2 separate regions of the Homo sapiens genome follow, and region 2 is linked to region 1. Evidence: promoter capture Hi-C in 16 types of primary human blood cells and fetal thymus (Javierre and others, 2016). All regions are on one chromosome and are shown on one strand. Each heading gives the region's core, a stretch centred on a gene start or on the middle of the fragment in contact. The rest is flanking DNA. Distances are from core to core; before and after follow the strand shown. Region 1 holds the start of DKK3 (dickkopf Wnt signaling pathway inhibitor 3). Region 2 has its middle 91 kb from the start of PARVA.

Region 1 (6,215 bases), core at 1-2,500:
GGAGCAGAGCTGGCTGCAGGTGTCTGGTCCTGACCACTCCTCTATGCCACCCTTGAGGAGCTTGCTGACTTTCTCATGACGTTCTCCCATTCCAGGAGCTGCAAGTGCGTTATCCTGGCTGGAGCACGGTGTCAATCACGGCAGACTAAGGCCAGCGGTGATGGCTTGAATGCCAGGCTGGGGGCTGGGATTTTTCCTGAGGATTTCACAGGACAGAGGTTGGCTTGGAAAGACCAAGGTGGGACTGAGGAACATTCCCCCTACCCCCAACCTCGGTGGGCTGTTGCAAGCCTGGAGGCCAGAGAAGACGGGCCTGGGATGCCGCGGGCGCAGGGGCAGGCAGTGAAGGAGATGGCTGCCTTCGGTAGAGCTGGTCGCTGAGGCAGAAGAGGAGGGCGTGGGGCGTGGGGCGTGAGGTGGCCGGCGCCCCGGCTGGCCAATGGCCGGGCTGCGGCCCCTCCGCGGGGCGGGGTGGGCCTGGTGGGCGGGCGGGGCTCGGGGCGGGGGCGGAGAGGGAGCCTGGTGGGCGGGCGGGGCGCGTCTTGCGGGCTCCCTCGGGTACCGGCGCTGCCGCACCCCGCCGCGCTCCCGCACCCGCGGCCCGCCCACCGCGCCGCTCCCGCATCTGCACCCGCAGCCCGGCGGCCTCCCGGCGGGAGCGAGCAGATCCAGTCCGGCCCGCAGCGCAACTCGGTCCAGTCGGGGTGGGTGAGGGGCGGCGGCGGGGGAGGGGACGACTCTGCTGAGCTCAGCCTCTCTTGGTGGATGTGGGGCGGGGCGCTCGAGTAGGACCCGACGCCAAGGGGAGGGGGCTGACCTGTGCTTGGTCCACCCCAGGTAGGGGCTGAGAGAGGCTTGAGGTGGAAGTGGGGGTCGGGCACTCTGACCTGGTCGAGGAGGGGCTAGGGTTTGAACCGGGGACAGAGTCTAGGTGAGCTGGGGCTTGGGAGCTATTAGCGTAGAGGATCCGGGTTCGGTTGCTCTGGCGAGGGCTCCAGCATCACAGGTGAGGAGCAGAGCTCAGCTTGTGCTCGAGGATGGGGGTGCGGGGTCCTGGGGCGATCGGGGCTCGGGCTGGAGCGGGTGGGGTCGCGTCTTTTCGGGTGTAGGGGAGCTGCGTTTTCAGGGGCCTCGGTTTCCTCCCGTCTCCGGGCGGGTGCGGGAAAGAGGGGCGCCAGGGGCGGGCGGCGGGGCGGAACGGGGCGGGGCGGCGGGCCCAGCGAGGGGGGTGGTCCGCGCGCCTCTGATCGCGTTCCGGGACACACAGGCGGCGGCTGCGGGCGCAGAGCGGAGATGCAGCGGCTTGGGGCCACCCTGCTGTGCCTGCTGCTGGCGGCGGCGGTCCCCACGGCCCCCGCGCCCGCTCCGACGGCGACCTCGGCTCCAGTCAAGCCCGGCCCGGCTCTCAGCTACCCGCAGGAGGAGGCCACCCTCAATGAGATGTTCCGCGAGGTTGAGGAACTGATGGAGGACACGCAGCACAAATTGCGCAGCGCGGTGGAAGAGGTGGGTGCGCCCTGGCGGCGCGGGGCTCTGAGAAGCGCCAGACTGGGGGCAGCGAAGTCTGGGAAGGCATGGAAGAGCGCTGGCCAGGGACCTCGGGTCCCGCGCAGGGCCTGGGAAGGGCCGACAGCAGATGCGGAGTGACCTGGAGGCAGCGCACGGTGATCCCTACTCCCGCCTCGTTTTGCCTCCTTGCCAAAAAGTCTGGATCTGAGCCTGTCCACCGAGAGGCTCTGCACTGGACCCTCCCTAGGTAGCTGGGGCCACCACCTGCCTGCAGTTGGCGTCAGGCATGCCGTTGGCCTTCCCTATTGTCAGCAGAGGTTTGCAGGGCCCCTGGTATTCCAGCACTGTGGTTTCACAGAAACCCGGGACAAGCTCCAGGCATCGCCAAGTTCTAGCTTGTCCGTTATGCTTTGAGCTTGTTAGGATGCCATGCAGGGACAAAGAGGCAAAGAGCCCTGAGCTTTGCTGGCAGTCTGTCTGGGCTGTCTTGCTTCTCACGCAATGTGGGGGCAGAGAGGGAAGATGGAAATCCTAAATCTCAGCACTGTATGAGTGGCGGATGAGGATGTGAGAGGCAATACCCCCTCCACCCAACGGTGCTTCGCAGTTGTCCTGGGCTCAGGTCCTCCTCTGCCACTCAGTAGCAGGGTGACATTGGGCAAATCACTTAATATCCTGCACCTCAGTTTCCTGTGAAAACTAAATGTCATATGTGTGGGCACCTGGCAAATAATAGGTGCGCAGTATTTAGCAACTATTATCAGATACCACGTACCTTAGCAAAGCTTTGCCTAGCTTCTGCCCTCCATCACCTCCAGGTCTAAACACTGTGGGTGGCATCTTGTTCTGTCCTCTGTGATGGTCACCCACGCATGCCCAGGGCTACCTGGGCAGGAGATGTCACTGGCCCAGCCCTCTCTGTCCAGGTGCGGGGAGCTGTCCCTGGTGCCTGGGGTGGGTAGACGAGGGCGCTGTTGGGCCCAATCTGTCTGTAGCCTGTGTCTATAGAGAGGAGCCAGCCGTCCTAGTGAAGGAGGCAGCAGGAAACCAATGTCCAGGCTGGTTGGCCCCTGGTCTGGCTTCACATCCCTGCTGTCTCCAGCTTGGTATCCCCCTTGGGCAAAGCCTTAACTGCTGGCCCTTGTCTCCAGGGGGAAGTTGCTTTCTCCCCGCAGCCCTTTGTAGTTTGGGGCTATTTCCCCTCCCACTCCACAACAGTTAGCCTGTGGAGTTTGCAGTGAAGGGGACACTGGCTTGGGAGGCAGTGAAATGGGCAGCTGTCCTTGAATATCCACTGGACAGGCCCAGATCCCAAGACCCATGATCTTTCTGTTTCCTGTGATTGCAAAACAATCATGACATGGAGCAATTAAAGGGTGAAGGGATTCAGATAGGCCCCAATGTCTCTTAACTCTGAAGCTTCAAATTAAGTGGAGTTTGCGATGCCTCTGGTTCTAGGGCAGGCCATCTGCTTTCCTTATCCAGGTTCTAGGACTTTCCCTCCTGCACACAGATTCCCGGTAAGACTGACTAAGTCACCTCTATGTTTTTGTGCCCACCACTGTTCAGAAAGTCTGCAGCGTGGTCCTCTGACGTTAGCTTCTGCTGAGGGAGGAGAGAGAGCAGCAAGGGCCTCTTCAGTCTCTTCTTGAGCAGAGCAGTGTGGGGCCCTGCAGGACCTAGTGACGGGGTCTTCTCCATGGGCGTTATCCAGACTGGATTTTGCCAAGACCCCAGCTTTCCTCCCTCTAGATGTGGCTCTGTGTAGGTTGGGGGGTTGAAGTTTGCCACCAGAGGAGATGTGGGCTGTCACTTCTACCCCACTCTTTCCCAGAGGTGTCCTCGCTGGCAGTGGGTACAGGATGAGAGAGGTTGAACACCATGGCAGGAGAAGAGGCAGTGGGGACTGATCTTCCCTCATCCAGTCCCTGCTCTGCCACTTACTGGCAGTGGCGTTCCGAGTCTGAAGTGGAGAAATGTCCACCTCTTAGGGTAAGGTGAGAATTAAATGAGATGCTGCAAGTAAAGCAAATCAGTGAGTTGGGCAGCTATCCCTGAATATCCACTGGTCAGGTCAAGAGCCCAAGATCCATGATCTTTGTTTCCTGTGATTGTGAAACTATCATGACATGGAACAATTAAAGGGTGAAGGGAGTCATATAGGCCCCAATGTCTCTTAATTCTGCAGCTTCACATTAAATTGAGCTTGTGATGCCTGTGGTTCTAGGGCAGGCCATCCGCTGACTGCCTAAAATGGGGTTAAGTAAAACACGTGTAATACAGGTAGCTTCATTGTGAGGTGGCTGTAAGGATGACATGATGGTTGGTTGTAAATAAGTAACAGGTATCATTATCATCATATTACTAGTAGCAGTATGAATGATAACAAAACACCACCAGTGTCTGATAGATTCTCAATAGAATCTATCTTTTAAAATATCTTAAACCATTAAAAATTAATCTTAAAATACTAAAAGTATCTTTTAGATATCTTCAAAAATAGAATACAATAGATTGTTTATAGACTGTGGTTATTAGTATTAACTTTTTATGGAGACTGCCAGAATGCCCCTTAAATCTCATAGACACAGGATAATTGGTATTTAGTCATTGTTCAGGGGAAAAATCAAAAAGGACCTGGGCCAGATGCATTATTTGTTTACATAGTTGCATCATGAATCTCCTTTCAAGTAACTTCCTGGCATTTTCAATGTTCCAGCTGAATCAAGCTGTTGAAGTTTCTTAAGGGGAAGGACAAAGCAGCTCTACTTGTACGGTCATTATTGGAAGAAGCATATCTTCAAATGGCTTCAATCTGGGATATTCCTACTTTCCTGTGTTACTATTCTATATGCTACCAATCAATGTATTCTGAAGATATAACCACTCTGTTTCTCTTCCCCTCATGGCCAGCTCTGTAACTCACTCATTTTAGAATGTTCTTACTGCCTCACCTATTTCTAGTATAAGTGCCATTTTTAATAGCATTCACATTCCTCCTCTACGAAACAGCTCCTTTTGCTTCAGACTTAAGTTTCTCTTGCTAGTGGCAATAATAGTTGCGGTTGAAATTTCCATTGTAAACTATACTTTTAGTTCATGGTGCCATTTAAGAACCGTTAGCTCATTCTGTTGAAATAACCAGTGGCTGAGCTGGGGGGAAAAGTTTTATAAAAAGACTATCTGCTCAGCCCAGAGCAAATTCTAGGTTTGGCAACTTGTCAATTATTTGAAAGCCAAACTGATCCCGATGGGAATTTTAAAAACACTAAAACATTCTCTTCTTCTGGGTGGGTCCTCTCCAGCACCTTCAGTCTTCTCTTCCCAGCTGCGTTTTTTTCTATCACTAACCAGAGTGGTAACTGAGGGCAAGGTCTCTTGCTTTTAAGGAAAGTCATTTTCTTGCCCATTCTGTCTTCTATCTCAGCCCCATTTCTTCTCCCCTTTGTTGGCAAGCTCTTCAAACACATGATATCAACGTTTGCTCTTCCTGCTTCTAGCTACCCATTCCCTTCAGAACTCTGGCAAAACAAACTGGCTTCTTTTGAAACTGCCTTCTTAAAGGGCAACGGGATAAAAACAGCTGTGTATTTCATCTTTGCTGTGTGGCAGATAGTGTATTTCATGCCTTAATTCTTATATCTACTGCATGGTCCTTAATTCTTATATCTACTCAACAAAGTAGGACATCCCTATTTTACAAATGAGCAAGCTGAGGTTTAGTGGGATTTGGTATCTTGCCTAAAGTCATACAGCTACTTTGTGGCAGAGCCAGGACTTGAACCCACCTTGTCTGACTCCAGAATCCTGGTACTTTCCACTGTGTTCCTCTCCGAGGATGCTGCAGGCAATGACTTGACTCATCCAGTGGCCATCTCTCAGTGGCTTGATCCTTCTAGACTTACTTAGAGTCTTTCCCACCTAGAAGGTCCCTACCCAGAAGTAGCTCCCATCTCCTAGACCTAATTCTAGCCAGTTTCCTGACTCCCCTCTCTTTCTGATCTACTCTTTATATTATTTCCCGCTAGCCTTCTGGAACTTGCTGTAGTTCCCTATTGCCTGGAACGGAGATTCTTAACTGGGGATCAGAGGGAGGGGAGGGAAATCCTCAGAATAAGCTGAGAAGCTCAGTATTATCAGGGTCTCATCTCTAGAAATCCCAATTCAGCGGGTCCATGAAGGGATCCAGATATTTCAATTTTTTAAACTTTTGGACCTGACTCTATAATCACAGCTTCCCCATAAGGTTGCTGTCAATATTCAAGGCATCTGGTGCAACGATTCAGACATAGTCAATGCCCCAAACGTGGGGGCTATTCTTAGAATTATTATTGTTATGAAGCCAGTGATCAAGTTTCAAACATCTCAGCAGCCATCTCAGAATCCAGCACAGAATCCGGCCACTGACTAAGTCCTTGTTGAGCCTTTCTGCCTACCAGGTTTTATTCACACTTTGAGTTTAGTGTTTTTGTGTTGCATTGAGACATGAGGATTCTTTCCTCTTATCCTCCTCAGCTCAGCAAACCTGGTGGTTAAAGCAGGGGCTCATCTAGTACTTAAGGGGATAGAGGACAGTGATTTTTTTAAATAGGAAAATACTTTTTGAGCATTCTTTTTTTAAAAAAAAAAATAAAAATAGCCCATAGTCAAAAATAGCAGTGTTGGAAAATTGCCAACTATCAGGTAGAACTTCTCTTTATGTCTCT
Region 2 (6,215 bases), core at 1,152-3,651, 280 kb before region 1:
ACCAGTCTGGCCAACATGGCGAAACCTTGTTTTTACCAAAAATACAAAAATTAGCCAGGCATGGTGGTGCGCGCCTGTGGTCCCAGCTACTCGAGAGGCTGAGGTGGGAGGATCACTTGAACCTGGGAGGCGGAGATTGCAGTGAGCTGAGATCACGCCACTGCACTCCAGTCTGGGTGACCAAGTGAGACCCCATCTCAAGAAGAAAAAAAAAAAAAACAAAAAAAAACAAGAGGTGCCCAGTGGCACAGGACACAAAGTAAAAGCTAGTTGTCAGCAAAATATGAACTCCATTAGTTTCCCACCCTCTCACGCACTCAAGCCGCGTCCAGTAAAGACATTGCTGAAGCCCTGGCCCATTCCAGAGGGGGCTGCACACTCTACCCAGCCAGGATTTCTCCAACTCTTGAGCCAAGAGCTCCTCATTGGCCAACTCACATCCCCCTCTGCTGGCCGTTTCCTTGAAACCTTGGTATGGCCCACCGGGGGCTGCCTTGCCTTCTGCAGGGGTCTCAGTCACACGTGCAGCTGGCCCTTAGGGTTGTTTTGTGCGAAGGAGGCTGATGCGCACACCAGCGCCTGAGTTTCAGCATCCAGGCTGCCTCTGGGTCAGGCGCTTGTGCTACCTCCTCTCTGGGCCCTCTGGCAGCAGCAACCTTTCTCGTAGATCCTAGAGGTCATCTGGCAGCATGATCAGCTGGGGAGGGTGCCCAGGGCAGCCACATATCCCCTCCGGCCCTCCCACCTGGGGCTTGGGGCCAGAACCAGCTGTGATGGGGCAGTAATGCCTCTGGACAGGAGGGATGGTACCATGCATTCTGCTCCCAATGGCAATGCCAGCCCTGCTCCCTGAGGTTTTCTTTTGGGCAAAGTAAAGACAATAAAAAAGATGGCTCTCGTGGCTTTCAGCTCTGGGGATTTTCGGGAGACTGGGACTCCATGGTGCAGCTTCCCAGAACTTGGAGGTTTTGCAAGGCTCAAATCCCCCTCAAAGTCTTGGAGCGCCCTCTAGGGGCGGCAGCCTGAGCAGGCCTGAATCCATGTCCTCCCTTTGTACGCAGTCCAGCCAGCTCGCTCCTTGGTTCCTTACTTCATTCATTGATTCAGCAAACAAGGATTGGGTTCCTCCTCCGGGCCAGACCATGCTAGACACTAGGCTGATTGAAATGATCAAAACTCAAGCCCTGCCCTCAAAGCAGCTTTTGTATACTCTCGAGAAACGCTGTGCAATACTCCTTGATAACTAAAGGCTGAGTTTCCCAGGCCCATCCCAGACACCATGGGGCTGCTCAGCAGTCCTCTTGCTCCTGCACCTCCCCCAGCGACCCAGCCCTATTGGGAGGGTCTCCCACCAGCCTCCCTGCTCTCACCCCAGGCTGGGAGCTTCCTGAGGAGGGACTGATCCCCCACACTGGTGGCACACAGTAGAGTGGGCTGGAAGCCTTGGGATGGACCCTACACTCATATAGTCCGGGCCTGGGCAGCAGGCTTCCAGGGACTTGGGGAGGGCCAGAGCAGGGCAGTAAAGGCGATGACCCATGTGTGGCAATGCTAGCTCCTCTGCCCTCTGCTGTCGCCGCTGGGGGCTGTCAGAGGATTCAGGAGTGACTCTAGGCTGTCCTCAGATGAAGTGGCCTGCCCAAGAGTGCAGCCCTGGGTCCTGCTCCCAAGGTGCCCCTGTCCCAGCCTGACCTGGTGTGACGGTGGTGCGTCTGGGGATGGTGGGGGAATGACTCACTGGCTGGGAGCCTTGACTCAGAAGGAAGGAAGACCAGGGCTCAGTTCCAACTGCAACAACGTTTCTTGGTAGAAACCCCTGTCTAAGCCAAGGCCTTTCTGGGTCCTCCTCTCCTAGGGTGAGGCTGGAGAGGGAGTGGGTGTGGGGGGAGGTGGAAGGCAGCGATGAGCCTGGAACTGGATGAAGAGTCTCTGCCCCTCGCTCAGGGCCTGAGGAGGTAACTCTGCTCAGTGAGTGCTGCAGTCCCTGGATCCCCGGCCTGCCTAGATGCTGTGAGACTGTGCGTGTTCACTGCGCCCCCTGGCAGGGCCTGCCGCCTCAGCACCTGCCACAGCCCTGCTCTTCCCCAGGACACTGGGACCAAGGGTGACTCAGAAAAAGGAGCAGGTGTGTATGTGTGTGTATGTGTAGGGGTGTGAGTGTGTGTGCGTGTGCATGTGTGTGTGTGTGGATGTGTGGGTGTCTGTGTGTAGCATCCTGTTTTGTGTGAGGCCGTTAATCTGATGGCCCAGTCTCACTCCAGTGTACAGAATCAAATCATAGAGTTCCTGAACCTCAGTTTACTCATCTGTATTTCAAAAAGCTTAGAGGCAATGATGGCTAAGGCCCTGTCTGGGTGAAACTGTAGAATCCTAAGGCTCCATAATTCCTGAGCCAGGGGTGGGGTGGAGGGGGATGGGAAGATCTTGAGTCCCTTGGAAAAGGCTCCCTCTAGTCAGCAGTGGAAATAAAGTCAAGCTTATATTTTATTTCTTGCCTCTGACAACCAGGAGGCCATGCCAGAGAGATACCATGTAAGGAATGAGAACGGCTGCCCCTGAGAATTAACCAGAGATCTTCTGCCCAGCCCCAGCCTCCCACCCCCAGAGAGCTAGTGACTCACTCCACCAGAATTCTCTCCTCCAGTTCTGGTATTTGCTTGGGGTTGGAGACTGGAAGCTATTGGCCCGTTGCAGAGCTGCTGTGGAAAAAGAAAGGGACAGGGAAGATGGGGTGGGAGGAAGAGTCCATTAAATGTGTAGAGTAAGTAGGAATTTATCTCCTATAGCTCAATTACCACAAGTCAATAGACTAATGATTATAATAGACTGAACTCTCTCCTTCCCTCACACCATACTGCTGTCCCCACAACACACTCTACCAAACTTTTCATTTGTTCACACATCAAATATTTTTGTGTTTTTGTTTGCTTGTCACCAGGCTGGAGTGCAGTGGTGGGGTCATGGCTCACTGCCCCCTCGACCTCTCGGGCTCAAATGATACTCCCACCTCAGGCTCCCGAGTAGCTGGGACTATAGGCATGCACCACGACACGCAGATAATTTTTTAATTTTTATTTTTTATAGAGACAGGGTCCCACTGTGTTGCCCAGGTTGGTCTCAAACTCCTGGGCTCAAGTGATCCTCCCACCTCGGCCTCCCAAAGTGCTGGGGTTACAGGCATGAGCCACCACACCTGGCATCAAATATTTGAGACCCTGCTATGGGACAGGTACCACCCTCAGAGAATGCCTCAAATTATGAACCATCATTACTAAGATCATCAGTGAGCATCTACATGCATCTATGCGTATATGCATATGTGTAGACATATTTATACATGCATGTGTACATACGTACATGCACATATTCATTCATGTCAGAACAGTTATTTAAAGCTAAGGTCATCACGGGCCATCAATGTTCCATATATGTAATACATTAAAAACTGGAGCTGCTCTGATTGAAGCCAGGAAGCTGCAGGAAGTTCTACTCTCTGCCTCCCCTTTCCCCACAGAGCCCCCCAAACCCTTTGGAAACCAGGTTTAATTGAGGCTGTGGACCATCATTGCTGTGGCCCTCCCTTGGCCTGGTTCCAAGGGAAACATATTTGCGGGACACTGTACTTCCTGTGGAAGACCCCTCTGCCAGCTGGGCCTTGAGGATTAGCTGAGCAAAATGAACATCACATGCAGAAGAAAAACAGGTCTTGGTCACTTAGGGTGTGAGAGTGGGCAGTGGGGTCCACGTGTTCCCTGTTCCCAGGCAAGGCCTGCAGATGCATTCCCAGGCTTCAGGCCCCTGCGCCTCCATCACTGCTGGAGAGAAAGGATGGGGACGGTGAACATCTGAATGTGCACACAGGCAGGGCCAGGAAGCATGAACGGAAAGGAAGCCCAAGGGCATGATGTGGGTGTGGGAGATGGACGCAGGGAGGGTCTGAATCCAGGACCCTAAATCCAAGGCCCAGCTAGCCCAGCCCTCTGTCTTTCTTTCTGTCTAGAAACAGTCCTAGATATTCCACTCCCTGCCAGGTCTCACAGTGGAACTCTTTCTTAGCAGCCAGGCTGTGGAGCACAGGTGACAATTACTACCTGGGGGCTTTCCTTCCTCAAGACCAGCTCCTTCAGCTCCTCTCTTTCCCTTACTCCATTTGTGAAAATGCCTTTGCAAAAATTATAACTGAGAAAATTATGACAGTGACAGAGATCTGACTTAACCAATCCCTCTTGCTTCTAACCTCCACCCTGTCTTTGTTCATTCCTGGGCGTAGGCTGAACTAACTTTGGGAGGAACTTAGTTTATAGTTTAGTTTGGAAACAAAGACGATAACAGCCCTTTCCCCAGACAAACCCCCTTCCTGCCTGGGGACAAGACTGCCTTTGCAGGACTAACAAATTAGCCGCAAGATTAGAAATTGTGGTTTAAGAGTCATGCAGCTGGAAGTTGCAAGATTCCGAACCTTCCCAAATTGCATCTTGAGGCTAACATCACTATTGTAAAGCCTAAGATCAGTGCTTGGGATATTTTGCAGACTCTGCGCTCAGAGGTTCAACTGGCACCACCTAGATTGATAAACTGGCTCATCTGGTCTTTTAGCCCCCACTCAGGAACTGACTCAGTGCAAGAGGACAGCTTTGACTCCCTATGAGTTCATCTCTGACCTGACCAATCAGCACTCCCCATTTTCCGAACCCCTTCTCAACAAATTATCTTTAAAAATCCTGATCCCCGAGTTTTCAGGGAGACTGATTTAAGTAATAATAAAATTCTGGTCTCCTGTACAGCCAGCTCTGTGTAAATTAAACTCTTTTTCTATCGCAATTCCCCTGTCTTGAGAAATCAGCTCAGTCTAGGCAGCAGGCAAGGAGAACCCTTCGGGTGGTTACATTTGGAGGCGCTTCATGTCTGCTCTGTCTGGCAGGTTCCCAATCCCACAGGCCTGCTCTCAAAATCAAGCCCATGGGTTTGAGGAGGAGCCTGTATGGATGGGCACACAGTCTTCCCAGCTCCCCATGAGGAGATGAATAGCCCACCCCCCAATTGCTGGCTGCCTGGGCTTTCCAGGCTGGATGTTTTCCATAAGGAGCAAGCAGGTCTTAAGCACAGCTACATCCTGCTGGCCAAAGCTAGCCTCTTAATCACTTAATGAAGACATTTCTAAAAAAAAAAATTGCATAAAGCTCTAATTGCTTCTTCTTAGCTTGTAACTTTGTGGAATGGAACCTATTGGAAATGGCTAAAGTTCAAGAGAGATTTTCCATCACTGGTGTTAATAGAACACACATGCACACATTTTTACCACAACGGGAACAATAGGGTGGGTAGTAATGACTTCATCTAGTAATGCTGAGCAGCATAAAGTGGGCTGATCCCTTCTTTTTAGCTTATATTCTATGTGTGTTTATTTATTTTAAAGGAGCACTTTCAGAGATCTTAGTGCATGACCCACTGTAAAAGGAGTGAGAGGGTATTTTCCCATGTGGTGCTGATGATATCATTTCATTGCTACAAACTGATAAGTGTCCTCCATATTCCATTGGATCAAATTATTGCCAGAAAAAAAGATGGATAAATATCAATTCCTCTAAGCCAGAATAATTCGGGGCAGGTTGTTCTCCTAAATCTAATTAGTTTATAGCTAAGAGTCCAATGCACTAGATCGATTCATTTAGTTGCTTGGGTGTGGATTTCACAATGAATTCATCTAGGAAGGCCTTCCACAAAGCTGCATTTCTGAAACTCCCAAAGTGTAGAACATGGTCCACTGTGTCAAAGCCCCTGGGGATGCTTACACAGAATGCACACACTTGGCACCACTCCAGACCCACTCAATCTGAATTTCTGATGGTGAGAACCTGGGAATCTGCCTTTTAAACAAGATTATCACGAATCCCTGACCCTGATGTTTTAGGGGGCTTTCTGCAGCCTCCATAACATAGGGTGTGAGCTGTATTTCAGGCCATCCTCTTGGGCACGCTCTGTGAACTTTGAGGATGTAATAAGTTTCTTCATGTGCCAAGGTAGTCCCCGAAGTCTTTTTAAAAATTGTGGAAAATAATATACATAATATAAAAATTGTTACTTATACATTTTTAAGTCTAGATTTCAGTGACATTAAGTACACTTACCCTGCTGTGCAGCCATCACCACCTCACCACCACCCATCTCCAGAACTCTGCCCTCATCCCAAACTGATGTATGTCCTTTTATGACTG

What was found. Contacts are between HindIII fragments. The CHiCAGO score rates a contact against its expected background, and 5 or more counts as called.
Region 2: a contact is called between a fragment that was not itself captured here and the fragment with the promoter of DKK3 in region 1, in 1 of 17 cell types (neutrophils). The highest score is 5.2, in neutrophils.

The regions. Positions count from the first base shown.
Region 1 is chr11:12,003,661-12,009,875 of GRCh38, reverse strand. It overlaps DKK3 (dickkopf Wnt signaling pathway inhibitor 3), which reads left to right and starts at 1,250. Exons shown (of 7, transcript NM_001018057.2): 1 at 1,250-1,506. The coding sequence starts at 1,294. RefSeq lists an enhancer at 2,063-2,998. The HindIII fragment of the contact is 4,877 bases long and covers 1-2,296 here.
Region 2 is chr11:12,283,571-12,289,785 of GRCh38, reverse strand. It overlaps a transcript of MICAL2 not described here. Among named protein-coding and RNA genes, the nearest start is that of PARVA, 91 kb to the left of the region's middle. The HindIII fragment of the contact is 155 bases long and covers 2,324-2,478 here.